Regions from separate parts of the Homo sapiens genome. Here region 1 is linked to region 2. Evidence: promoter capture Hi-C in human tissues and cell types (Jung and others, 2019). All regions are on one chromosome and are shown on one strand. The core of a region is centred on a gene start or on the middle of the fragment in contact, and the rest is flanking DNA. Distances in the headings are between cores, read along the strand shown.

Region 1 (5,454 bases), core at 1,337-3,836, 620 kb before region 2:
GATCTTGGCTCACTGCAACCTCCACCTCCCGGGTTCAAGCGCTTCTCCTGCCTCAGACTCCCGAGTAGCTGGGACGACAGGTACGCGCCACCATGCCCAGCTAATTTTTGTATTTTTACTAGAGACGGGGTTTCACCATGTTGGCCAGGATGGTCTCGATCTCTTAACCTCATGATCCGCCTGCCTCAGCCTCCCAAAGTGCTGGGATTACAGGCGTGAGTCACCATGCCCGGCCTGGAGCTTTATTATTACTGAAATCAGTCTCCCTGGAGCATTAAGGGATCAGAGTTTTTAAAGATAATTTGGTGGGTAGGGGCTTAGGAAGTGGAGAGTGCTGATTGGTCAGGTTTGAGATTGGATCATAGGGAGTTGAAATGAGTTTTTCTTGCTGTCTTCTGTTCCTGGTTGGGATGGCAGACCTATTTGGGCCAGATTACCAGTCTGGATGGTATCAGCTGATGCACTGGGTGCAGGGTCTGCAAAATATCTCAAGCACTGATCTTAGGTTTTACAATAGTGATGTTATCCCCAGGAGCAGTTTGGGGAGGTTTAGACTCTTGGAGCCCATGGCTGCATGACCCCTAAATTGTAATTTCTAATCTTGTAGCTTAATCTGTTAGTCCTGCAAAGGCAGACTGGACCCCAGGGAAGAAGGGGGTCTTTTCGGGAAAGGGCTATTATCAATTTTGTTTCAGAGTCAAACCATGAACTGAATTCCTTCCCAAAGTTAGTTCGGCCTATGCCCAGGAATGAACAAGGACAGCTTAAGGGTTAGAAACAAGATAGAGTCAGTTAGGTCTGATTTCTTTCACTGTCATAAAATCATCAGTTATAATTTTGCAAAGGCAGTTTACCAGGAGTTTGAGACCAGCCTGGGCAACATAGTAAGACCCCTATCTCTACCAAAAAAAAAAAAAAAAAAATTAGCCAGGTGCAGTGGTGTGCACCTGTAGTCCCACCTACTCAGGAGGCTGAGGCGGGAGGATTGCTTGAGCCCAGGACTTTGAAGCTGCAGTGAGCTGTGATCACGCCACTGCACTCCAGCCTGGGCAACAAAGTGAGACCCTGTGTTAAAACAACAACAACAACAACAACAACTTTGGGAGGCCGAGGTGGGCGGATCACGAGGTCAGGAGATTGAGACCATCCTGGCTAACATGGTGAAAGCCCGTCTCTACTAAAAATACAAAAAAATAAAAAAAATAAAAATAAAAATTAGCCGGGCGCGGTGGCGGGTGCCTGTAGTCCCAGCTACTTGGGAGCCTGAGGCAGGAGAATGGCGTGAACCTGGGAGGGGGAGCTTGCAGTGAGCCGAGATCGCGCCACTGCACTCCAGCCTGGGTGACAGAGTGAGACTCCGTCTCAAAAAAAGAAAAACAAAAAAGCCAGGCGCGCGGTGGCTCACGCCTGCCTGTAATCCCAGCACTTTGGAAGACCGAGGCGGGCGGATCACAAGGTCAGGAGTTCGAGACCAGCCTGACCAACATGGTGAAACCCCGTCTCTACTAAAAATACAAAAATTAGCCGGGCGTGGTGGCTCGCACCTGTAATCCCAGCTACCCAGGAGGCTGAGGCAGGAGAATCGCTTGACCCCGGGAGGTGGAGGTTGCAGTGAGCCGAGATCGCGCCACTGCACTCCAGCCTGGGCGACACAGAGACTCCGTCTCAAAAAAAAAAATAAAAAAAAAATCATAGGAGCATCACAACTCACAGCACCTTCCTGTTGTCTGAAGGCCCCTCCTTTGGGTCCCTCAGGACTGGCTCCAGGGCTTCAGCCTTGGAACTAGTTGTGGACTTTGGGTCCCTTTGGAATATTTATCTTTGGCTTGGAATAATGCAACAACGTACCAGACCCAGCCTTGCCTTCTCTATGCCCCATTCCTCCCCAAATGACTCCAAGACTGTACCCCTAATCCTGAACCCTTTGCTGCACTTGCCCTAGTGAAAATCAAAGGTCTGCAAAGGCCGCGTCATTCCTGAATGATGTTCGGAGTCTGATGTCGTTTCTATGGGGGATTAAAATTAGCGACACTGGAGATGAATTACAGGGTGCAGCCAGTAAGGAGGGAGAGAGAGGGAGGCAGGTGCGATTCCTTCCACCTAAGCATCCTGGCCTGGCAGGCAACCTTTCCAGGGTCTTTCAGGCTGCAAGCGACAAATAGTTGAGGATTGTGGGTTTCTCACGCGTAGGTGGCAGCGGCAAGTTAACCCCAGGAGAGGTGCCAGTCAGCAGATAATTTGCAAACGAACGTATTCTCCTCCTCCTCCGAGGATCTGAGCCTCACGAAATACTCTTTTCTTCCTTTTTCTCCCTCCCGCAGTCGAGTTGCCTTCCGTCCAGCTAGGGTCCCCTCCCCGCCCGGGTCCCCTCCCCCTCCCGGTCCCCTCCCCCGCCCGGGCTCCTCTCTGTCTCCCCCTCCCGGACTGCGTCCTCGCTCCGCCGGGCCCTCCTCGCCGCCAGCTTGTGAATGAGACGCTCAGTTTCTCAATGGAGCCGCGGGGGGCTCGGGCGGCCGCGGGGCGGCCGCAGCGTTGGCCGTGAGTCAGGAGGGGGGCGCGTTTCCCTCGCTCCCTCTCCACTCCCTCCCTTTCGCTGCGGCCGCCCGCGAGGAGCCTGGCTGAGGCAGCCGCGCAGGTCGCAGGGCCAGCGTCCGCGAGGACGGCCCGGCTGGGCGGCCCCGAGCTCTGTGGCGCTGTGGAGGAGCGGGAGCGCGGCCGAGGAAGCGGGGCGCCGAGGGGGTCGGCGGCCTTCGGGAAATTTCCGCCGACCCTTCGCTCCCGGCTCTAAAAGTTCCTGATTTCCTATTTCCTTTTAAATCCCGAGTGGCTGTTAGCTCTTCGCCTGCACTTTTTCTTCCCCAGGAGATAAGGGGGAGTGTGAGGAACGGAGCGAATAATATAAAAAAGGATTTCCTCCCGGAAGAGAGCGGCAGTTCGGAGAGATTTTTCTTAAGGAAGCAGAAGCGGCGTTTGCGGCCGCTGCAGGCGCCGGGCCCTGCCGGCCACACTATGCGCGAGCCGGCCCCGGGCTGCTGAGGCGCGGGGACGCGGAAGCGGAGGCCGAGCGCGCCGGGCTCCCGCGCTCGCGAGCGAGTTTTGTCCGCCCGGCGGCGGTGGCGGGGGGATGGAGCCCGCGACCGCGCCCCGGCCCGACATGGCGCCGGAGCTGACCCCGGAGGAGGAGCAGGTAAGCGGGCCCGAGGCCGCCGCGTTGGGTGTGTCCGGGCCCCCGAGGCCTACGCCGGCCTCTGCCTCCCGAGTGCCGGCTCTTTGCAGCCACGGGGCCGCAGCCCCCCGCTCCCGTGCCCGGCTCGCGGGCCTCCCTCACCGGCGACCGCGCCCCAGGCCGCCACCCCCTCGTCGGGGGACCCACGGGACCCTACTCCCGTTCCCGCCGCTTCTTTCGCCGAGGCTTACCAGCCTCAGACGGTGCCCTCCGCACCCCACCCCCTATTCCAGGGGCAAAGTTCCTTGGATCCAGGGGCCTTCTTCCCGAGATTTGCAGAACCGCTGCTTGCCCCCGGCCCTTCCACTCCCTTGTAAATGTTTTCCGTGAGGGTTTGTGGCTTTTGAAGGGCAGGAAAAGCCCCAGTTTGGGGGGTGCTTCCTGTGGGGATTATCTCCCTTCCCGAGGAGAGGGCTGAGAGTATTGGATGCATAGATGCCCTAGATTTTCAGAGGAGCCTCTTAGGTTTCTCAGGCCCACTTGGGCAGGTTATGGAAGATCCAGCCCTTCTCGTGTTCCTAAAGTCCCTGGCCTTGACCCCCCTATTCAGCTATCCCAGACGGGGCGCATCTCCTCACCCGCGCTTCCCTACCCTCGTCTCATCTGACTGTCTCCATCTTTCTGAAGCTTACATTGAGCTCTATTGTTCCTTAAAAGCCTATGACCTTTAGTTTTCAGAAGGAAGTGGTTTGCTGTCTCATTTTGGGGGCCCTTGTAACTTTCCCTCCCGCACATTCCAGCTGCGGAGACAGGGACCACTCCTGAGGAAGATGGGAAGGTCTGCTAGCTTAGACTGGGAACCCTACGGGCTTTTCGCTGTCTCTTCCTTGGCACTGCCCATACCCCGCCATAGCTATGCTCGATTATAGTCATAGTCTGATTCCATGTTATAAATAAAAAAAATAAAAATAAACATGAAAAAAGAAAAAGGCAAACCATGCTGGCAACCCATTTCAAGCTCTACAGCTCTTGTTTCCAAGGACCACATTTGCTAGCACAGCCTCTAGTGTGAAGACAGTCCAGTTTTACAAACTATTATTGGCTAATGGGCTTGTTGACCTGATTTTTTAAAGTCCTTGTCTTTTCTCCTTATTTGTGGAGATGACATTTTTCTATTTGGCCTCAGGCCACGGTTTTGTCTTTTGACACCTGGTGATGAAATCTGTATGGGAAAAAAATTTAAAAAGAATTCTGCTTTGTACAAGCAGTGGTAATGAATGTCCTGGTAACTGCAGTTGGATGTTAATAAAATGCTAGTCAGACCCTAGTGCAAGCAGGTGGCCAAGGAGCCCATTCTGCCAGAATTGGGAAGTACTTCAGTACTAAGATAGGATGTGTTGGCTGATTTTAAAGGGACAAAATCTCTTTCTTTCATCCTTTTCCTTGGGTCAGTCAGATTTCTGTTTTTAAGACTTAAAGCCATCAGTATTCTATGCAAATAGCATCCGTTGCAAATTTGAAAACTAAAACCAGGAAAAGTAAATATTAAAGTATTGATAGTATTGACATGGTATTGGCTTTACTTTGTACATAGTGCATACACATATATACAGATGTGTTTAACTAGTAAAAACCTTATCTTTTACCCTGAATTGAATGTGATGGGCATTAACAAGGACTAGGATGGAAACGGCAAAATGTTTATTAAAGTCAAGAGATTGTGTGTGTGTGTGTTTTTAAAATCTTATCTCTTTTTTCTACAAAATATTATTTTTTTACAAGCATTTCAAAATATTGAAACAAAAGCAGTATAGTTCTAATTATGGTAATGCCTAATGTTACCATATTTTAGTTTAATATCACATAAGAGTACTCTCTTTTTTTTTGAGATGGAGTTTTGATTTTTTGTTTGTTTGTTTGTTTTTTTGAGACAGAGCCTCGCCCTGTCATCTAGGCTGGAGTGCAGTGGCCTGATCTTGGCTCACTGCAACCTCTGCCTCCAGGGTTCAAACGATTCTCCTGCCTCAGCCTCCCGAGCAGCTGGGATTACAGGCGCCTGCCACCATGCCCAGCTAATTTTTGTATTTTTAGTAGACGCGGGGTTTCACCATGTTGGCCAGGCTGGTCTTGAACTCCTGACCTCATGATCTGCCCGCCTCGTCCTCCAAAAGTGCTGGGATTACAGTCGTGAGTTACTGCGCCTGGCCGGAGTTTGGGTTTTGTTGCCCAGACTGGAGTACAATGGCGTGATCTCGGCTCACTGCAACCTCCATCTGCCGGGTTCAAGC
Region 2 (6,016 bases), core at 1,648-4,147:
CCCCTTTCCCTGTGTCCTCACTACTTCATGCCCCAATTCCTTCCTGCCTCTCGCGTTTCTCCTCTCTCCTCGCCACCCCGCCCCGTCCTTCACCGCCCACCCTGTTTTCCCCGCTCGCTGCCCGCTCTCTCCCACTCCAGCTTCCTCCAGGCCTGCCACATTACCCTAATTCACAGCACCCCATCCTTCCTCCCTCACTCCCCGCATCTCCCGCCCCCACCCCCTACACCCCTTCACGGCTAGGAGGGAGCGCACAGCCGGCGGGCTGCGACGCGCGCTGACAGTGTAATGAATGGCTTCAGCTGTAATTAGCGACCCCGCGGCTAATCACGATGTACATTTACATTTTAAGTGCTGCAGAGGGAGCGCGGGAAGGGGAGGGGACCGGCAGGAGGGAATGCGGCCCTTTTCGGCGTTCTCCCTTCACCGACTGTGGAGAGCAGTGAATGCGAGTCTTCTACATCCGACAGCAGTTTAGGAGGTTGGGGACGGCTGGGTCCTCGAGGGCCAACCTGGCCGGACGCAGAACCGCCCCGTCCTCGCCCTACACAAACCTGAAGCTCCCAGGACCCTTTCTCCAAATGACAGAACTCCGCCCAATCCCTTCCAAGTGATCGTGCAGCCCAAACTTGCATACTCCCGGGGACGGAGAGCTCGCTCCTTCCACAACCAGCCCGTTCCAACGTAACTTCCAGCCTTTCGGGGGCTTTTTCTCAGGGCCTGACCTTACACAGCCCTCGGTTCTCCACGCCCCGCTACGCGCTGCGGACAGTCTTTGTTTCTTCCCAAGGCTGCTGTGCCTCCAGCCCCCACCGCTGTGTGGGGCCCATGGAGACTGGACCGAGACCGAAGTCCCGGTTCGGAGCATACCCCGAGGGTTCCTGATCCCACCAGGAGACGGGGAGGGGGTCAGCCATTCACACATTGCGGTGCCAAGGTCCAGTCGCCGCAGCCACTCCCAGGAAGTGGTAAGAGGGTAAATCCCGGTTCTGAACAGCAGGGACCGAGGGCCGCTCCCAAGAAGTGACAAGGAAGTAAACCCTGGTTTTGAACAGCAGGGACTGAGAGCTGCTGCAGATGCCCAGAGGGCGAGAACAGCGGGAGGAGGGAGAACAGCATCTGGCAGCCCCATCTCCAACTGAGGCCCAGCAATCCAAGGCACTGTCATGCCCCCAGCACTTTCCCGGTGGCCCGCCCGCCCCAGCTCTCTGTGTCCCTCCCCGCCACGCCCCGTCACAGTCCCCTGGCTAGGACCAGATCTGCCGCCCTCTCTCAGTCCTGACTGCGTAGGGCGGGTGGAAGGAGGACGGGGGAATCCCGAGAGCAGTTTTAGGGAGGGTCGGGCCCCTTCTCAGACCCCCTCCCTTCCATCAGTAGTCCTGACAGCCCCCAATCTCATCTTTCTCTAATGCTTCTCTCACCCGGCAGGAGACCCCGGGCCTCTCTTTCGGTCCCGTGGAGTTTCCGCCGGAGAGGCATCCAGTAGTTCCATAATGCCCCCAGGGCTTCAACTCCCCATCTTCCTCCCTTCTTTCTCTCTTTTATTTTTTTTTAAGTCTTTTTAATTTTTGTGGGTATACAATAGGTGTCTATATTTAGAGGGTACATGAGACGTTTTGATACAGGCATGCAATGCATAATAATCACATCCTGGAGAATGGGGTATCCCTCCCTTCTCTTTTGTATTTTATTTAATTAATTAATTTATTCATTTTTCGAGACAGAGCTTTGCTCTGTCGCCCCGGCTGGAGTGCAGTGGCATGATCTCGGCTCACTGCAGCCTTCAGCTCCCGGGTTCAAGCGCTTGTCCTGCCTCAGCCTCCCGAGCAGCTAGGATTACAGGAGCGTGCCACAACGCCGAGCTGATTTTTGTACGTTTAATGGAGACGGGGTTTCACCATGTTGACCAGGCTGGTCTCGAACTCCTGACGTCAAGTAATCCGCCCACCTCTGCCTCCCAAAGTGCTGGGATTAAAAGCGTGAGACACCGCGCCCGGCCCCTCCCTTCTCTTTTTTAAAACCTGCGTTCACCTAGCCTCCTTTCGAAAAGGACCCCACTGGATCTCAAGGGGCCAATGTTGCCTGAGCGAATTCCGCCTGGGAGGAAGGGGGCGGCCACGTTGGCAAGGCATCGTGCCTGGCTCACCCTAAAGCGCGCAGCTCTAAGGGTGGGCTCTAGGGCCTGGGTGGAGCGAGCCTACCGCCTTTTCAGAAGAGGTCACGCCCGCTTCCCCACGCGCCTCGGGGAACAGCCTGGCCCAAAGCCTCACTCCTCACGTCCCAGGGGTGGACGGGGGTCCGGGAGCCTCGAGCTCCGGGCAGGCGTGGCGAGGCTGAAGTCTGGGTCTTCCGCGCCCCGCGAGGACCACGCCGCGACGTAATCGCCCGCGGGGAGGCGCGGAGTGGAGCCGCAGCCAGCTCCTCCCGCACTCTGCTGACCGCGCACTAGCTGTCCTTGAGGCAAGAATACTTGGGAGCGGAAAAAAGGTGGGGGTGTTCCCCGGGGCGGGGGAGGAGGGGCAAGGCCCCAGCAAGCCTCTTGGAAATCTCTCCCTGGGAGGGGACGAGGGGCGGCCTTCAGTTGCAAATGGGAAGGGCTCGGATACCGGATTTGAAGCAGTGTTTGCACGGCAAGCGCAGCTTTTATTTAGACTGCCGGTTTGTGAGGGTTGGCTCTCAGAGCGCTGATGGCGATTATAGTGGAACTTCACCTTCACCTGCTCATGCGCCCCGCAGCGCGCCCGCTCCCACGCCCGCGTAGCTGAGGACCCAGACTCGCCAGGAAAGGCTAGTGAGGCTGGGGCCCGGGCGGGCCCGGCCGGGCCGGGTCAGGGGAGGGGCCTGGCGGCAGGGGCGGGGCCTCAGCTAAAGGCGCGGAGCACCCGGCGCCGAGAGCGCTGAGTAGAGCGGCGCCCGCTCGAGAGAAGTGGGGCCGAGATCGCGCCGTCCCAGCCCGCCCGCCGGCGTCTGCGCTGCTCCGGCGCCCTTACCCCTGCTGGCCCTTGCAAGGCGCGACCGGCGGCCATGCAGCCCCGGGGCTGAGGCCGCCCCATGGCAAAGCCGGCGGTCCCGGCGACGACGGCGCATGGAGAACTTCCGTAAGGTGCGCTCCGAAGAGGCGCCAGCGGGGTGCGGGGCCGAGGGAGGCGGCCCGGGCTCCGGCCCCTTCGCAGACCTGGCGCCGGGCGCGGTGCACATGCGGGTCAAGGAAGGCAGCAAGATCCGGAACCTGATGGCCTTCGCCACCGCCAGCATGGCGCAGCCAGCCACGCGCGCCATCGTCTTCAGCGGCTGCGGCCGGGCCACCACCAAAACCGTCACGTGCGCCGAGATCCTCAAGCGCCGCCTGGCGGGCCTGCACCAGGTCACGCGGCTGCGCTACCGGAGCGTACGCGAGGTGTGGCAGAGCCTCCCGCCTGGGCCCACGCAGGGTCAGACGCCTGGCGAGCCGGCCGCTAGTCTCAGCGTACTTAAGAACGTGCCCGGCCTCGCCATCCTACTTTCCAAGGACGCGCTGGATCCGCGACAGCCCGGCTACCAGCCCCCGAATCCCCATCCTGGTCCCTCGTCCCCGCCAGCCGCGCCAGCGTCCAAGAGGAGCCTAGGGGAACCCGCAGCTGGAGAAGGCTCCGCGAAGCGATCGCAACCCGAGCCAGGGGTTGCGGACGAGGATCAGACGGCCTGAAACTCCGGACTGTGGGCCACCTAGTCCGGCAGGATCTTCCGCCAGCGCCTCCACCTTCAGATGTACCTCCAGCCTTTCACTCCTCGGTCCTCCGGAGCCCACAACCTGGACACAGCTCCTCAAGACAGGTAGCATGGACCTTAAGGCGACAAGAGAGGGGCCCCAGGAGTGGCAGGAGAGGATCCCCGACCACCCTAGGGAAACTTCGTGCGATAATTGCTGCTTATGCCCGTGTTGCGTGAAGACACGGAACTTCACCTTTTCTGGGACCTTCTTTGGGGGAGAATGGTGGACAGTGGGATTCTGGAAACTTGTTTGGGACCCCCAAGGGTTAAAGCCACCCAGCATTCACGAAGAGCACCTGAAGTATGGAAGCTGAGAAGAGTTATTGGAATCACCCCCACCGTTGACAGAGGAAGGCAGGGGGTGAGAATTAACTGCTTGAGGGTAGGAGAGTCTGAGATGTGGGGGCCCTATTCCGCTCCCCGCCCTGGGACAGTTTTCCTTTCTAGTTTTCTTTCCCCTGCTTCAGAGGAGCATCTCTGAGGGTTCTAGCTCTTTTAACACCCCTTTTCCCCCTGCTGGCCCAGAGGGAGACCCAGGACTGAACTCTCCAGGCCTCCTCCCCTGAGCCCTGCAGCTGGCTGGAGTCTTGCTTCCAATAAAACAAGCACAAAAATGGCTGTGTCCCCCATTTTTTTTCTAACCACCCGCCTGTGCAGAGACAGCTCTCGCCTGGCCCCTTGTGTCTCCCCTCCCCTCCAGCCTTGCGTCCTGAGTCTTTGGAGTCTTCAGGGTCAGGCACAGAGACTGAACAGCTTCAAAATGGTGCAAGGCACTGCCCAGTCCCTGGCTTCTTCCTCTCTCCTCCCCCACTCCGCCCTCCCGGGCTGGCCCTGGCCTCAGAGGCTGTTGCAAATGGGGGCCCGTGTACCCCTGTACATCGCCACTAAGGGAAAGGGAGCGGCACATTGTTTTTCTGGGAGGGGAAGGAAGGAGTGGAAGGACAGCATCGATGAACTCTCCTGGAGGTCACTGCAAAGGGTGGCAGACCCTGCTGAGGTCCCTGAATCTGCAGCCTCCAGACAATAAACTGAACCTTACCCAGAAGGCTGGCACAAAGCCCCCAGCTCTGTGGGTAGGATCTCCCCTTCACTGCCCTCTCTCTGAGAAAGGACAGCACACCCTTGGGAAAGGGGGAGGAGAGAGACTGAGCACAAATCCACTGCTGGAAATTACTATTCAGCAGAGAAGCTGGGTCTTGGGCTGTGAATCACTGCAGGCCTCCTGATAAGCTGCTGCCTCCAGCCCTGCACAGCTGTCTGTTGAGAGATAACAGCCTCATAAGCTTCTCTGCCCAACTCCAAGCCAGCTGGGGGGTGGGGGTGCTGCTGTGTGCTGGAAGAGCTCTGGTGAGTTGGGGGTGGCATACAGCCCCAGGATCTCAGAAGCAGATCTCATCCCATGCAACTCAGCAGCACCCCTGGAAAGGGGGAGATGCGGAAGAATGTATTTATAAGTCATTTTGCTGGCAGAACCCTGAAATAAATCCTGCTGGTGACAAGAGATACGTTCTGTGGCTGACTGGAGGGGCTCTTAGGGAGGTTTCCCTCCCCTGCAGTATCTCTGCTTGAGCTTTGGAGTGAGCTTTGTCATCCAGACTTTGTCCCTCGTTGCTCTCCCCAAATTCCTGCTCTTGATGAGTCCCTGGAGAGGGCCAAGGGGTTTGGGTTTGCTTGTCTGACCCTCTCAGGGGTGGCCCAAGAAGCATGGAAAGAATGTAAACTGTCCTGACAAGATGGCCTAGCTTCTCCTGGACTTCAGCATCTAAAGGCAGTGATAAAACTTGGACAAGGTCCTGCATGGTAGAAGCTTAAGGGAGACTGGTCTTGGTTCTGAAAAGGGTCCAACTTTCCAAGACAACAAGTGACTGATAGCCGGGTTACCAGGACTATGAAAGCAGGGCCTGAGGCCGGGCATGGTGGTTCATGCCTGTAATCCTGTAATCCCAGCACTTTGGGGGGCCAAGGCGGGCAAATCACGAGGTCAGGAGCTTGAGACCAGCCTGGCCAACATGGTGAAACCCCGTCTCCACTAAAAATACAAAAATTAGTCAGGCATGGTGGCGGGCGCCTGTAATCCCAGCTACTCAGGAGGCTGAGGCAGGAGAATCGCTTGAACCTGGGAGGCGGAGGTTGCAGTGAGCCGAGATTGCATCACTGCACTCCAGCCTGGGCGACAGTGTGAGACTCCGTCTCGAAAAAAAAAAAAAGAAAGCAGGGTCTGCTAGTCTTGTCACGGAGATAAGGCTGCAATGGATTTTTTTTTATT

The links. Contacts are between HindIII fragments. The study calls those that stand out against the background at their distance.
Region 1: a contact is called between the fragment with the promoter of PTPN9 here and the fragment with the promoter of RPP25 in region 2, in 1 of the 25 tissues and cell types used here (psoas muscle).

What each region holds. Positions count from the first base shown.
Region 1 is chr15:75,576,447-75,581,900 of GRCh38, reverse strand. PTPN9 (protein tyrosine phosphatase non-receptor type 9) reads left to right here and starts at 2,586. Exons shown (of 13, transcript NM_002833.4): 1 at 2,586-3,187. The coding sequence starts at 3,125. RefSeq lists silencers at 2,229-2,718, 2,979-3,378 and an enhancer at 2,421-3,019. The HindIII fragment of the contact is 16,601 bases long and covers 1-5,138 here.
Region 2 is chr15:74,953,653-74,959,668 of GRCh38, reverse strand. RPP25 (ribonuclease P/MRP subunit p25) reads left to right here and starts at 2,897. Exons shown (of 1, transcript NM_017793.3): 1 at 2,897-5,251. The coding sequence starts at 3,086. The coding sequence ends at 3,685. RefSeq lists enhancers at 729-1,285, 2,280-3,213, 3,214-4,147, 4,148-5,081 and a silencer at 2,605-3,254. The HindIII fragment of the contact is 8,066 bases long and covers 1-5,295 here.